3 separate regions of the Homo sapiens genome follow, and regions 2 and 3 are each linked to region 1. Evidence: promoter capture Hi-C in human tissues and cell types (Jung and others, 2019). All regions are on one chromosome and are shown on one strand. Each heading gives the region's core, a stretch centred on a gene start or on the middle of the fragment in contact. The rest is flanking DNA. Distances are from core to core; before and after follow the strand shown.

The links. The method cuts DNA at HindIII sites, captures the fragments that hold promoters and counts their contacts. A contact is called where the count stands out against the background at its distance.
Region 2: a fragment that was not itself captured here is called in contact with the fragment with the promoter of TEAD3 in region 1 in 2 of the 25 tissues and cell types used here (adrenal gland and dorsolateral prefrontal cortex).
Region 3: a fragment that was not itself captured here is called in contact with the fragment with the promoter of TEAD3 in region 1 in 1 of the 25 tissues and cell types used here (liver).

Annotation. Positions count from the first base shown.
Region 1 is chr6:35,494,565-35,498,328 of GRCh38, forward strand. It overlaps TEAD3 (TEA domain transcription factor 3), which reads right to left and starts at 2,515. Exons shown (of 13, transcript NM_003214.4): 1 at 2,334-2,515. TULP1 (TUB like protein 1) reads right to left here. Exons shown (of 15, transcript NM_003322.6): 15 at 3,310-3,764. The coding sequence ends at 3,763. It overlaps LOC124901309 (a long non-coding RNA gene), which reads left to right and starts at 3,569. Exons shown (of 2, transcript XR_007059561.1): 1 at 3,569-3,643. RefSeq lists enhancers at 759-1,544, 2,491-3,421, 3,422-3,764 and silencers at 2,323-2,372, 2,553-2,682, 2,693-3,022. The HindIII fragment of the contact is 31,199 bases long and covers 1-3,764 here.
Region 2 is chr6:36,082,031-36,085,794 of GRCh38, forward strand. The region is part of intron 8 of MAPK14 (mitogen-activated protein kinase 14); the gene reads left to right. Among named protein-coding and RNA genes, the nearest start is that of MAPK13, 47 kb to the right of the region's middle. The HindIII fragment of the contact is 4,015 bases long and covers 1-3,764 here.
Region 3 is chr6:36,053,183-36,056,946 of GRCh38, forward strand. The region is part of intron 2 of MAPK14 (mitogen-activated protein kinase 14); the gene reads left to right. Among named protein-coding and RNA genes, the nearest start is that of MAPK14, 27 kb to the left of the region's middle. The HindIII fragment of the contact is 5,870 bases long and covers 1-3,764 here.

The DNA.
Region 1 (3,764 bases), core at 1,265-3,764:
CCACAGCTTCTGCAGCCCCCATGTGGGAAGAAGAGGCTGCGACCTCCTAGCCCCTTCACAGAAAGCTGCAGCGTTTAGACCCCTGGGCTCCTCTCCCCATCCTGGGCGGGGAGGAGGAGGAGGGCAGGACCAGCGATTTCCACACTGAGCCCTGGGACCCCCACAGGTGTCTGGGAGTGGGGCAGAGGGTAGAGCCACCCAAGCGGCCTCTGAGCACCCTTTGTGCCATTCAGCCCTAACAGAACCCATGACCACTTCAGAGGCAAGATCCCCCAATCCACCAAGCCCCCCTGTCCCTTGACACCTGCCCCCCGCCACCTTTTCAGCCCTGTTCATCTGGCTGAGCTACTCCTCAGTCACCCCTTGGTTTGTCCTTGCCTTCTTCTTTGGGCCACTGGATCACCCACCCGCCTCTCCAGACCCCACCAAGTTCAGGTTCCATCATGGGAGAAGGAAGGCAAACTGGGAGACAGACTCTGGGAGGAGCTCAGAGAAAAGGGACTTGAGAAGTCATTCATTCCAAGCAGGGAAACTGAGGCCCAAAGGGGCCTGCCAAGATGGCGCAACTGGTTAAAGGTCCGGAGGGGACCAGATCCCTATTTCTTGACCACCTCTGTTGAGATATCTTCTCCTTTGATATTGTTGAGAATATCAAATCCTCCCGGTTTTAACATTCCTTCAGTTGGCAGAAAGTGCCAGGGTCTACAAACCTTTGGGTGAGGATGGGAGCAGGGCTCAGGACCCATGTGATGCTTCTGTACACTTAATGTGCTGCTCTGTCCTGGCAACCACTGACCACTCTAACAAGCCATTCCCCAGCCCAGATGCGCTCATTAGCATTAATGACGTTCCCTCCCTGGGGGGGTAGGGGAAGGCCCAAGAGCTTGGGACTCATACTGGCTCCTACCCTCTCCCTGAGGAGGGGGCATCCAGGGCCCCTGAAGTTACCCTTACTGGACAGCCTTGTCCTGGAAGATCTGTGCACTCTGCCCACTGGGTGAGCAGGGACCCAGAAGACCACAGAACCACATCCTTTAGGGAGTGCCCCTACGAGAGGGGTCTTGGTGGGAGGGGGGCTACAGGAGTCTAGAAGGGAGAGGACATAATTCCCCCAAATCTCCAACTTTTGAGGAAAGCCTCCCCTCCTTGCCCCAGGTGGCCCCAGCACTGGGGTGGAACATGTGTACAGAGAACCAGGCCACAAGAGACTGGATACGCAGAGCCGCTATGGGCACCAGCCCCTCTGAGCTGTGTCCAGCCCCTACCCCTATGCCCTGTTCTTCCGGACAACAAGTCCAGGCCTGACCTGGTTCTGCCCCTACCTGGAAAGAGGGAAGACACAGAAGAAGACAGCCCCTGAGAAGTCCGCCCCAAGGCCTCCTTCCCCCTCGCACTGAAAGAATCTCTCAGCCCTGGATCAGGGCCCCTCACCAGGAAAGTTGACAGAGCGGGGTCTCAATGACACTGCCCCAGGGCCCAGCTGGGCTGGAAAACAGATCCAGACCAGCGCTCCCAGCCCTCCCTCCCCTAGCAGGAATAAAGGGCATGACAGACAATGGTGGGGACCGGGGTAGGAAGCGGGAGACCAGCCACCCTCAAACCTTGTCAAGTCTAAACAAGGGCCCTGAGCAAGTGTGGGGAAGAAAAGGCCCCAAATCCAGACCCCTCCGAGCCAAGCTCACAGCGCTCAGGGCTGGAACTCTGAATCAGCACCCCGACGCAGGCGGCAGAACTGAAGGGAACGTGAGCCCCTCCCTGCCTCTCAGGGGACACACGGCCGGGGCGCGCGGCTTTGGTCCCAGACACCCTCCACAACCCAGCGCAGCCGCGGCACCGCGCGCAGAAACCGGCCTGGGCGCTGGGAGGCCGGGCCCGAGGCCTGCGTGGAGCTGAGGCCGGGCGGGCTCCGGGAGCGCGCGGGCCGGGAGTCCAAAGGGCGGCGGGGCCCGGGACTGGGCGCCCCGGATATGAGCTCCAGGGTGGCAGGCAGGCCCTCCACACTGTGCGGCCCCCGGATCCCCGCCCCGACCCCCCAAGCACGGACGGCGGGACAGGCGACGGCACAGGGGACACGGTCTCCCCGGCTTCCCCACCTTCCCGGACCAACTCGTCCCCGTCGCGGGGGGGTGGGGAGGGCGGGGGGCGGGGCTTCCCGGAGAGATTTTCCCCCTTCCCTCTAAACTTCCCGGCACCCCGATCCGGGGCTCCAGCTCCGGCTGGACAATAGCTCGGGGACCCAGTCCCCCTCGAGTGTCGCCCCCCCAGCCAGCCCAGCCGACCAACCAAACCACCTCTCCCGAGCGGGGCCTCCTCCCGGCGTCCGCCCGGCTTACCTGGTCCGAGCTCGCGGGGGCGCTCCGGCCGGGCCGCTCCGCCGGGCCCGAGGGAGCCGCAAGGGGGGCCGGGGAAGGGGGGTCGTGGGGAGGGGGCTGGCCGGAATGTGCGGAATGAGCCGGGCTGGAGCGGGAGGCGCCGAGCGCGGAGGAGGGAGCGAGCGGGACGGAAAGTTTGTGTTGAGGAGCCGGGGCGGGGGTGGGGGCTGCGGGAAGGAGGGGGCGGGGCGCGCAGGGGGCGGTGCTGGCCGGGAGGGGCGGGGCCGTCCAGCCGCGCTCGGGCCGCCTACCCCGCGGCCTCGCGACCCGGCCACCCCGGCTGGCGCGCGCCTGGGCGCCCCGCTCCTCGCCCGCCCGTGCGGAGCTGCCTTCCTCCCCCTGCGCTCCGGGCCTCGCCCCGCTCCCGGGCACCCGCCGGAATTTGGGGCTCCGGCCTGGGGCGGGGCCGAGGGCGGAGCCCTCGCCTCGCGGGCAGGGCTCCCGTCGGTGCCGGGGGCCGTGGGTGCCGCGTCACGAGGAGCCCGGCAGAGCCGGAGCGCACGGGCCCCGGGGCTCCCGGCCCCTCCACCCTAGTCCCGAGCCGCCAAGGCGGAGCGTACCCTCCAGCTCGCGGGCCTGCCCCCCACTCCCGGGGCCCCAGACCCGGCTCCGCCCTGGCGGCTGCGCCCGCCCTGCCGGGACCCGGTTTGTCTGGTTCTCCCCGCGTGGCTAGTTTCTCGAATTTCTTCTCCCTTTCTCCCTCTTCCCCGACCTCCGGGACCCTCCCTTTCGCCCCGGCTCCCCGGGCCCCCACGGGGGGCGTCTCGACGCTGTGCGGCCGCCGAGTTTCGGTAGGACCCGCGACGGGCGCGGGGAGGGGACGCGGGAGCGCCCGGGGCCTGGGCAGGAGTGGGACGGGGGTTGAGACTTCCAGCTCGCGCCTCGGACGCCTCCTGCCGCCTCGTTCTCCGCACGCGCTGAGGAACCACCGCTCCGCTTGGCCAAGGACGCGGCTTTATTGGGGATGTGGGTGCCTGGCCCTCGTCCCCCATCACCTACCCCCTCCTCCTAGCCCGCCCCAGCTCCTCGGAGCCCTAGCGCGGTCCCGGGGAGAGGGGAGGTTAAAACAACAATGACTACTGCTCCCGGACAGGAAGTGACTGGGGCGCGGGGAGGAGGGGGGCACAGCGGCGCAGGCGAGCTCCGAGACCAGATGTGCGGCTCCAACTCCAGATGTTCTTCATCTCCGTCCTACCCGCCGTCCGGGCTCCTCCTGCCTCGGCCTGTGCCAGGCTGGGGAGAGGACGGAGGTCACCGAGAGGCAGTGAGAGGTCAGCCCCGACACAGGAGCAGTTTTCCGCGGGAGCTTTGCTGGAGGGACCCTGCCAGCCTCCACTGAATCCTTTCCCCCACGCTGACGGGCTCTGGGGGCGCTGAGGGGCTGCTGGGGTC
Region 2 (3,764 bases), core at 715-3,214, 590 kb after region 1:
GTTGATATATAGAAACCAAATTAATTTTTGATTGTTGATCTTACACCCTGCAAATTTGCTCAATTTATTTATTAGCTCTAGCAGCTTTCTTCTAGATTCTTTGTGATTTTCTATGTATAGGGTTATGTCATCTGCAAACAGAGATAGTTTTATTTCTTCCTTTCCAATTTAGATGCTTTTAATTCTTTCTCTTGTCTAATGTAATGGCTCTGTCTAGAACTTCTGCTACAATGCTGAATAGCAACAGTGAAAGTAGGCATCCTTGTCTTGTTCCTGTCTTAGGGGGAAAGCTTTCAGTCTCTTCCCATTGAGTATGATGTTAGCTGTTGGTTTTTCATAAATGCCCTTTATCATGTTGGGGAAGTTCTCTTCTTTGGTAGTCCATTTCACATTGCTATGAAGGAATACCTGAAACTAGGTAATTTATCAAGAAAAGAGGTTTATTTGGCTCACAGTTGCATAGCTGTAAAAGAAGCATTGTGCCAGCATCTGTTTCTGGTCAGGACCTCAGGAAGCTTTCACTTATGGTGGTAGGGGGAACAGGCATGTCACATGTCAAAGGAGGGAGCAAGAGAGATGCCAGACTCTTTTAAACAACCAGCATTTGCATGAACTGATAGAGCGAGAACTCACTCATTAATGTGGGGAGGGAACCAAGCCATTCATGAGGGATCCAAGACCCTAACACCTTCAATCAGGCCCCACCTCCAACATTGGGGATCACATTTCAACATACTTGGAGGGGACAAAACATCCAAACCCTATCACCTTCTGTTCACAGTTTTCTGAGTATTTTAATCTGAATTTTAAATGCCATTAAAATTTTATTTAGATTACATTGAAACTTAATTACACATGGCTAGTGGTATTGGTTTATGCATTTTTAGATCCCTTCAAGTTATCTTCCTGTTCTACCTTTTTCTTGGGTTTTGTAATTAGTCTCCTTCTTGAAAGATTATTTTGGTACTGGTTGTTAGTAATTCCTGGATTTCCTTTAAAGATATAAGAAATACTGGGGAGGGGACAAGATGGACAACTAGAAATAGCTGCAATCAGAGGCTTCCAACAAGAAGAACGAAAACGGTGAGTGAATCCTGCACCGGCAACTGAGGTATTCACCTTCTCTCAATGGGACTGACTAGGTGGTTGGCATGACCCATGGAGAGTGAGGAAAAGCAGGGTGGAGCGACAGCCCACCTGGGAGCTGCAAAGGGCAAGGGGAGCTCCCACCCCAAGCCAAGGGAGGTGGTGAGTGATTGTTCTACCCTGTCCAGGAAATCATGCTTTTTCCAAGGATCTGTGCAACCTGTGATTCAGGAGATCCCCCTCATGAGCACATGCCACCAGGGCCTTGGGTCCCAAGCACAGAGCTGTGTAGGTTCTTGGTAGCCCTTTGGCTGGAGACTACATAAGACTACTGAGTTCCTTGGGGGAGGGGTTGCTGTCATCACTGCAGCTCCAGTCTGCTGTTTTCCCCTGCTGGTGCTGGAGAGACTGGGCGGTTGGGACCCAGAAGGAATTCCCTACAGTGCAGACCCTACAGTGGTGGTGGCACATCATGGCCAGACTGACTCTTTAGGCTGAACTCTGACTCATCCCCCTACACGGGGCAGGGCCTCTCTGCGGGAATTTCAGCAACTCCAGCCAGGGGTTTACAGACAGAATTCCAATCTCCCTGGGATGGAGCCCCTGGTGGGAGGGGTGGCCACAGTCTCCACAGATCAGCAGAGTTAGTCTTTCCCCTTGCTGGCTCTGAGGAATCCAGGCAGTCTGGATGAGTGAGATTTCCCCCAGTGCAGCACACCCCCTCCACCAAGGGGCAGCCAGAGTGCTTCGTTAGGTGGGCCTGTGCCTCTTGACTGGATGAGACCCCTCCAACAGGGGTCGCCAGACACCTTATGCAAGAGCATTCCCACTGGCATCAGGTTGGTGCCCCTCTGGGACGGAGCTCCCAGAGGAAGGAACAGGCAGCCATCTTTGCTGTTCTGCAGTCTCCACTGGTGACACCTCCAGGTACAGGAGGGACCCAGGCAAAGAGTCTGGAGTGGACCCCCAGCAAACTGCAGCAGCCCTATGGAAGAGGGGCCTGACTGTTAAAAGCAAAACAAATGGAAAGCAACAACAACATCAACAAAAAGGTCCCCACCAAAACCCCTCCAAAGGTTAGCAGCCTCAAAGTTCAAAGCTAGGTAAAGTCATGAAGATGAGAAAGAATCAATGAAAAAACGCTGAAAACTCAAAAAGCCAGAGTGCTTCTTTTCCTCCAAATGATCACAGCACCTCTCTGGCAAGGGCATAGATGTGGGCTGAGGCTGAGATGGATGAATTGACAGAAGTAGACTTCCGAAGGTGGATAATAATGAATTTCACTGAGCTAAAGGAGCATGTTCTAACCCAATGCAAAGAATCTAAGAACCATGATAAAACATTACAGGAGCTGTTAACCAGAATAACCAGTTTAGAAAGGAACATAAATGATGGAGCTGAAAAACACAACATGAGAACTTCATAATGCAACCACAAGTATCAATAGCCAAATAGACCAAGTGGAGGAAAGAATTTCAGAGCTTGAAGACTATCTTGCTGACAAGATAAGAGAAGAATGAAAGGAAATGAACAAAACTTTTGAGAACTATGGGATTATTTAAAAAGACTGAACCTGCGAATGATAGGGGTACCTAAAAGAATTGGGGAGAATGGAAACAAGTTGGAAAACACACTTCAGGATATCAGCCAGGAGAACTTCCCCAACCTAGCAAGACAGGCCAGCATTCAAATCAGGAAATCCCTAGAGAACCCCAGTAAGCTACCCCATGAGAAGATCAACCCCAAGATACATAATCATCAGATTCTCCAAGGTTGAAATGAAGGAAAAAATACTAAGGGCAGCCAGAGAGAAAGGCTAGGTCACCTACAAAGGGAAGCCCATCAGGCTAAGAGTGGACCTCAGCAAAAACCCTACAAGCCAGAAGAGATTCGGGGCCAATATTCAACATTCTTAAAGAATTTCCAACCCAAAGTTTCATATCTGGCCAAACTAAGCTTCATAGTCAAAGAAGAAATAAAATCCTTTTTAGACAAGCAAATGCTGAGGGAATTCGTCACCACCAGGCCTGTCTTGCAAGAGCTCCTGAAGGAAGCACTAAATATGGAAAGGAAAAACTTACTGGCCACTACAGAAACACACTGTTTTCTTTTACCAGTAACACTATGAAGCAGTTACCTCAACAAGTCTGCAAAATAACCAGCTAGCATCATGATGATAGGATCAAATTCACACATAAAAAATATTAACCTTAAATGTAAGTGGGCTAAATGCCCCAATTAAAAAACACAGAACGGCAAGCTGGATAAAGAATCACGACCCATCAGTATGCTGTTGTATTCAAGAGACCCATCTAACATGCAAAGACATACAAAGGCTCAGAATAAAGGGATGGAGGAAAATTTACCAAGCAAATGGAAAGCAGAAAAAAGCAGGGGTTGCAATCCTATTTTCTGACAAAACAGACTTTGAACCAGCAAATATCAAAAAAGACAAGGGCATTACATAGTGGTAAAGGGCTCAATTCAACAAGAAAAGCTAACTATCCTAAATATATATGCACCTAATACAGGAGCACCCAGATTTATAAACCAAGTTCTTAGAGACCTACACAGAGACTTAGACTCCCATACAATAATAGTGTGAGACTTTAATACCCCACTGTCAATATTAGACAGATCATCAAGCAGAAAATTAACAAGGATATTCAGGACTTGAA
Region 3 (3,764 bases), core at 618-3,117, 560 kb after region 1:
GAGAATATGGGAGTCTGTGGCTATTAAAAGACAAAATAGCCACAGACTCCCATATTCTCATAATATAGCCTTAATATTTTTAAGTGGAAAAATCTGAGAAAGAGTGCCTTAGGCTCACTGAAAGTCCTATCAGAGATGGCTATTATTTTATATATTTGTTAATAATTTTTCTTTTTTTCCAGATTCACGTATTTTAATAAATATGTCAGAGGCATTGTTTAAGTTAAATATAACTTTTTCTTTTTTACCAATTTGTTGATTCAGTTGCCATTCTGCAAAGATGCTTACAAATTCTAATACGATAAATAAGTGGATATAATTGGAATACTAACTGAAAGTAAAAAGACAGTTGACTGAAGACACTTATTTTACTGAATTTCAAAATCAAGTTATGAATTTCTGTGACTGCTATATGAAGGGTACTGTGAAGTTTGTAGCATTGTGGAAACAATGGCCATAGAGATTTCAAAGTCCTCTGGCTGTACTGCTTGTTACCTTGTGGAAGAAAATTCAAAATCTGTGAATTTATTATTTGACTATTTAGACTGTTTTAGTAATTTAACTTCTTCATAGCGAGAAAAAAGTCACAGATAAGTGACTCTTCATTAGCGTACATTTGTTTCATTAGTGCAAATTTCTTCTAAATTGAGAACATTAAGACTTAAATTTGTAATTGGATTATGGATGCCATTATAATCACAGCTGCTGCTTTTTATTTTCACATTTTATTTTGATTGTATGCTATTGAGGAAATCCTATTTCTACAGACAACTTCTATTCCTGAGTATAATTTTACTTAAGTAGCTATGTGCAAACCAGAGTTTTAAGAATGTTCAGTGTGAAGCTGCAGCCTTCCTAATCAGTGACATGTTTACAAGAAGTTGAGATATGCGGAAAAAGCTGGCAGCAGAAACTTTATTCCTAGGTCTGCATAAAATCAAAGTGGCCTGGCAGCTTTAAGGGATGTGTTTGCGTTTGATTTTTAACACATTTAAGTGTGTATGCTGTTTTTCATTACACATTATTATATGTGACAGAGACAGTGTCACAGCTTTGCAAGTATAAAGGATATTTTGAAAGTGAAATGCAAGCCAAACATTTATGGAACCCCAGAGCACCTTTGGGAGCCACTAGGATCCTATTGATGTGGCTATGCTAATTTAAGAACATCTGGTTTAGGAGATTATCAGTGCTACACTGATTGTTTTGCTTTTCTTCATAAATATGTTAAGCCAATGTTTAGGGATCATGGTATTAGAAAAATAGGATTTTAATTTCTATACATTGTTTTATAAGTGGCTTGCTTACTAGCAGTCTTTTTTTTATATAAAGATGTTTAAGTTCTAACAGTTGGTGGTCACCTAGATATCAGTGATTTGTTATTTAAACAAAATAAGGCACATGGCTGAATGTCTCATAGTTCTCTATTCCATTGGCAAATGTTTGAAGCCAAAAGACTTGACTCAATGTAGAAAAATTCCTGCATTTTAGCCTATTTTGAAAACATTTGTTAGGTGCTTATAATGTCAAAGTAGTTTTACCCAATAAAGAACCAAAACTTCCGGTAAGTTTAATTGAGGGTTTTCAGAGAAATTCATCTCGTTTACCCTCCTCTTCTTTTTTAAAAAATTACTGTTTTGGGTCACCATCCAATTTTTATAGCGGCCAAACCTCCCACAGGCAGCAGCAACAGGCGCTTAAAACTTGTGAACATTTTAGGTGTTGGTAACAAATACAATTTTCAGGTGCCAGAGGGCACATGTGATCTTTTACACAAAAATGCCTCTGACCCACAATCGGTAGTTCATCTTGAATTGTCTCTTCTGTTAGTGATCATGAATAATAGATAAACATTTATTAGGTGAGTGACTGAAGCTAGGGGATGTCCTCTGTGACTGTGAGAGTTTCTCTCTGAACAAAGTTAGTTGGACCATTCCTGATTGAACTTCTGACCTTGATCTCGTTAACACCTGCTCTAAGGAAAGATTAAAGGGAGGCAGCCTGCCAGCTGCATCCTTTGCTGTCTGGGCAGACACTACAGAGATGGCCCATATATGGGCCTAGAGATCTGTACATTTTAGAATTTAAAAATGATCAAGGAAATTGTTTTGTAAATTTTATTTGGGAGCCTTAGATTTAACCTTACCATTGTAGACCAAGAGATTGTTTTGGTGTGCTTTTGTTAAATATGCTAAATATTGTCTCTGGATACTGAGTTAAAGTATTTTTTTTTGGATGTGTGCTAATTTAATAAAAATACGACTTAATATTTGCCAGGCTTTGGACCATGATGGGATAATCATTAGAGATATTTGCTGCTTATTTGTATTATGAATGTCTTTTCTAAAAATTTGATTCCTGGGTTACTTTGAGGTGACTGAAGTCATGTAACAGCAGAAGGAGTTAAGGAAATAGACTAAAATATGACTTGATTTAGAAGGGAATTTCCATTTAAGAAATGAGAAATGGCTGGGCGCAGTGGCTCATGCCTGTAATCCTAGCACTTTGGGAGGCCAAGGTGGGTGGATTGCTTGAACCCAGAAGTTTGAGACCAGCCTGGGCAACATGGCAAAAACCAGTCTCTATTATTATATTAAAAAAAAAAAAAAGAAATGAGAAATGAATAGATTCCTAAAATATTTTCCAGATCTATTTTAATGCTGATAAGCTTTTGTTTTACAGTATTTTCCTTATGATTAATATTCATAAGTATGATTAATGGAGTGAGGGATATTTTGTAAAAACCCATCAAAAATTTAAGTACTTTGATTTAGCATGGGTAGTTTTAATCTCAAAATTGTTATTTTCGGTGTGCTTATGTTAAACACATTAAATATTGTAAATATTGCCCTTTTTAGGAAATTAAAATTTGGTAGGGTATTTACTAGTTGGCTTTTCTCTATTTTTTTTCAGGTTACTTTATTTTTCTTCTTGCAGTCATGGTTTTTAATCATTTGAATAGTTGAGCTTTATGTCTCATATTCTGTTAATGGAAGTAGCTGCTTCAGATAGTTTGCTTAGGTATATTGTATTTTGTAATTGTCTATTCAACTGTGTGGGCTGTGGTCACCACTTATTTTGATGATCCACAGTGGGTCAGCCTTTTGTACTAGGCACCTTCAGATACATTGTCTGCTCAGTCTTGCTGTCAGTACTGTGAAAATAAGCAATGATGTCCTCATGTTTTTCATATGAGGAAAATGGGACTCAGAGAAGATACCAAATGTATTTGCCAATTATTATTTACATAACAGCCATTCATTGAACTCCTGCTGAATGCCAGGCTCCATTCCAAGTGCCAGCGTTATTGGAATGAAGAAATTATAAGCTCTTGGACCCAAGAAATCACAAACTGATACTGGGGTTCAAACTTACAGCTGCTTGGTTCCAAAATGTCTGTTGTGTTTTCAGTTTGAAATTGGAGTTTTTATTTGAAAATAGTTTTGACTTTTGTCTTTTGAGGTAACTCTTGCATGTGTAAATCAGATCTCTAATGATTTAGTTTTATTTCCATAGGAGGATTTTCACAATCACAATGGAAACACTGTAAAACAATGTAAATAGTTTTAAACTTTTCTATTGTTTTGAGGAGATGGGCATCTCAGATAACAAGAATCATTGATTAGAAAATATTGGAACGGTGAATAAAGTTAGCTTCTAGACCTCAGTTACCTTAAGTAGAAGTGGGTATAAGGGAGAGTGATTAAAAGACCAGAGGTCTTAAGCCAGGAGTATACCAAACTCAAGGGAAACGATTATGGTTT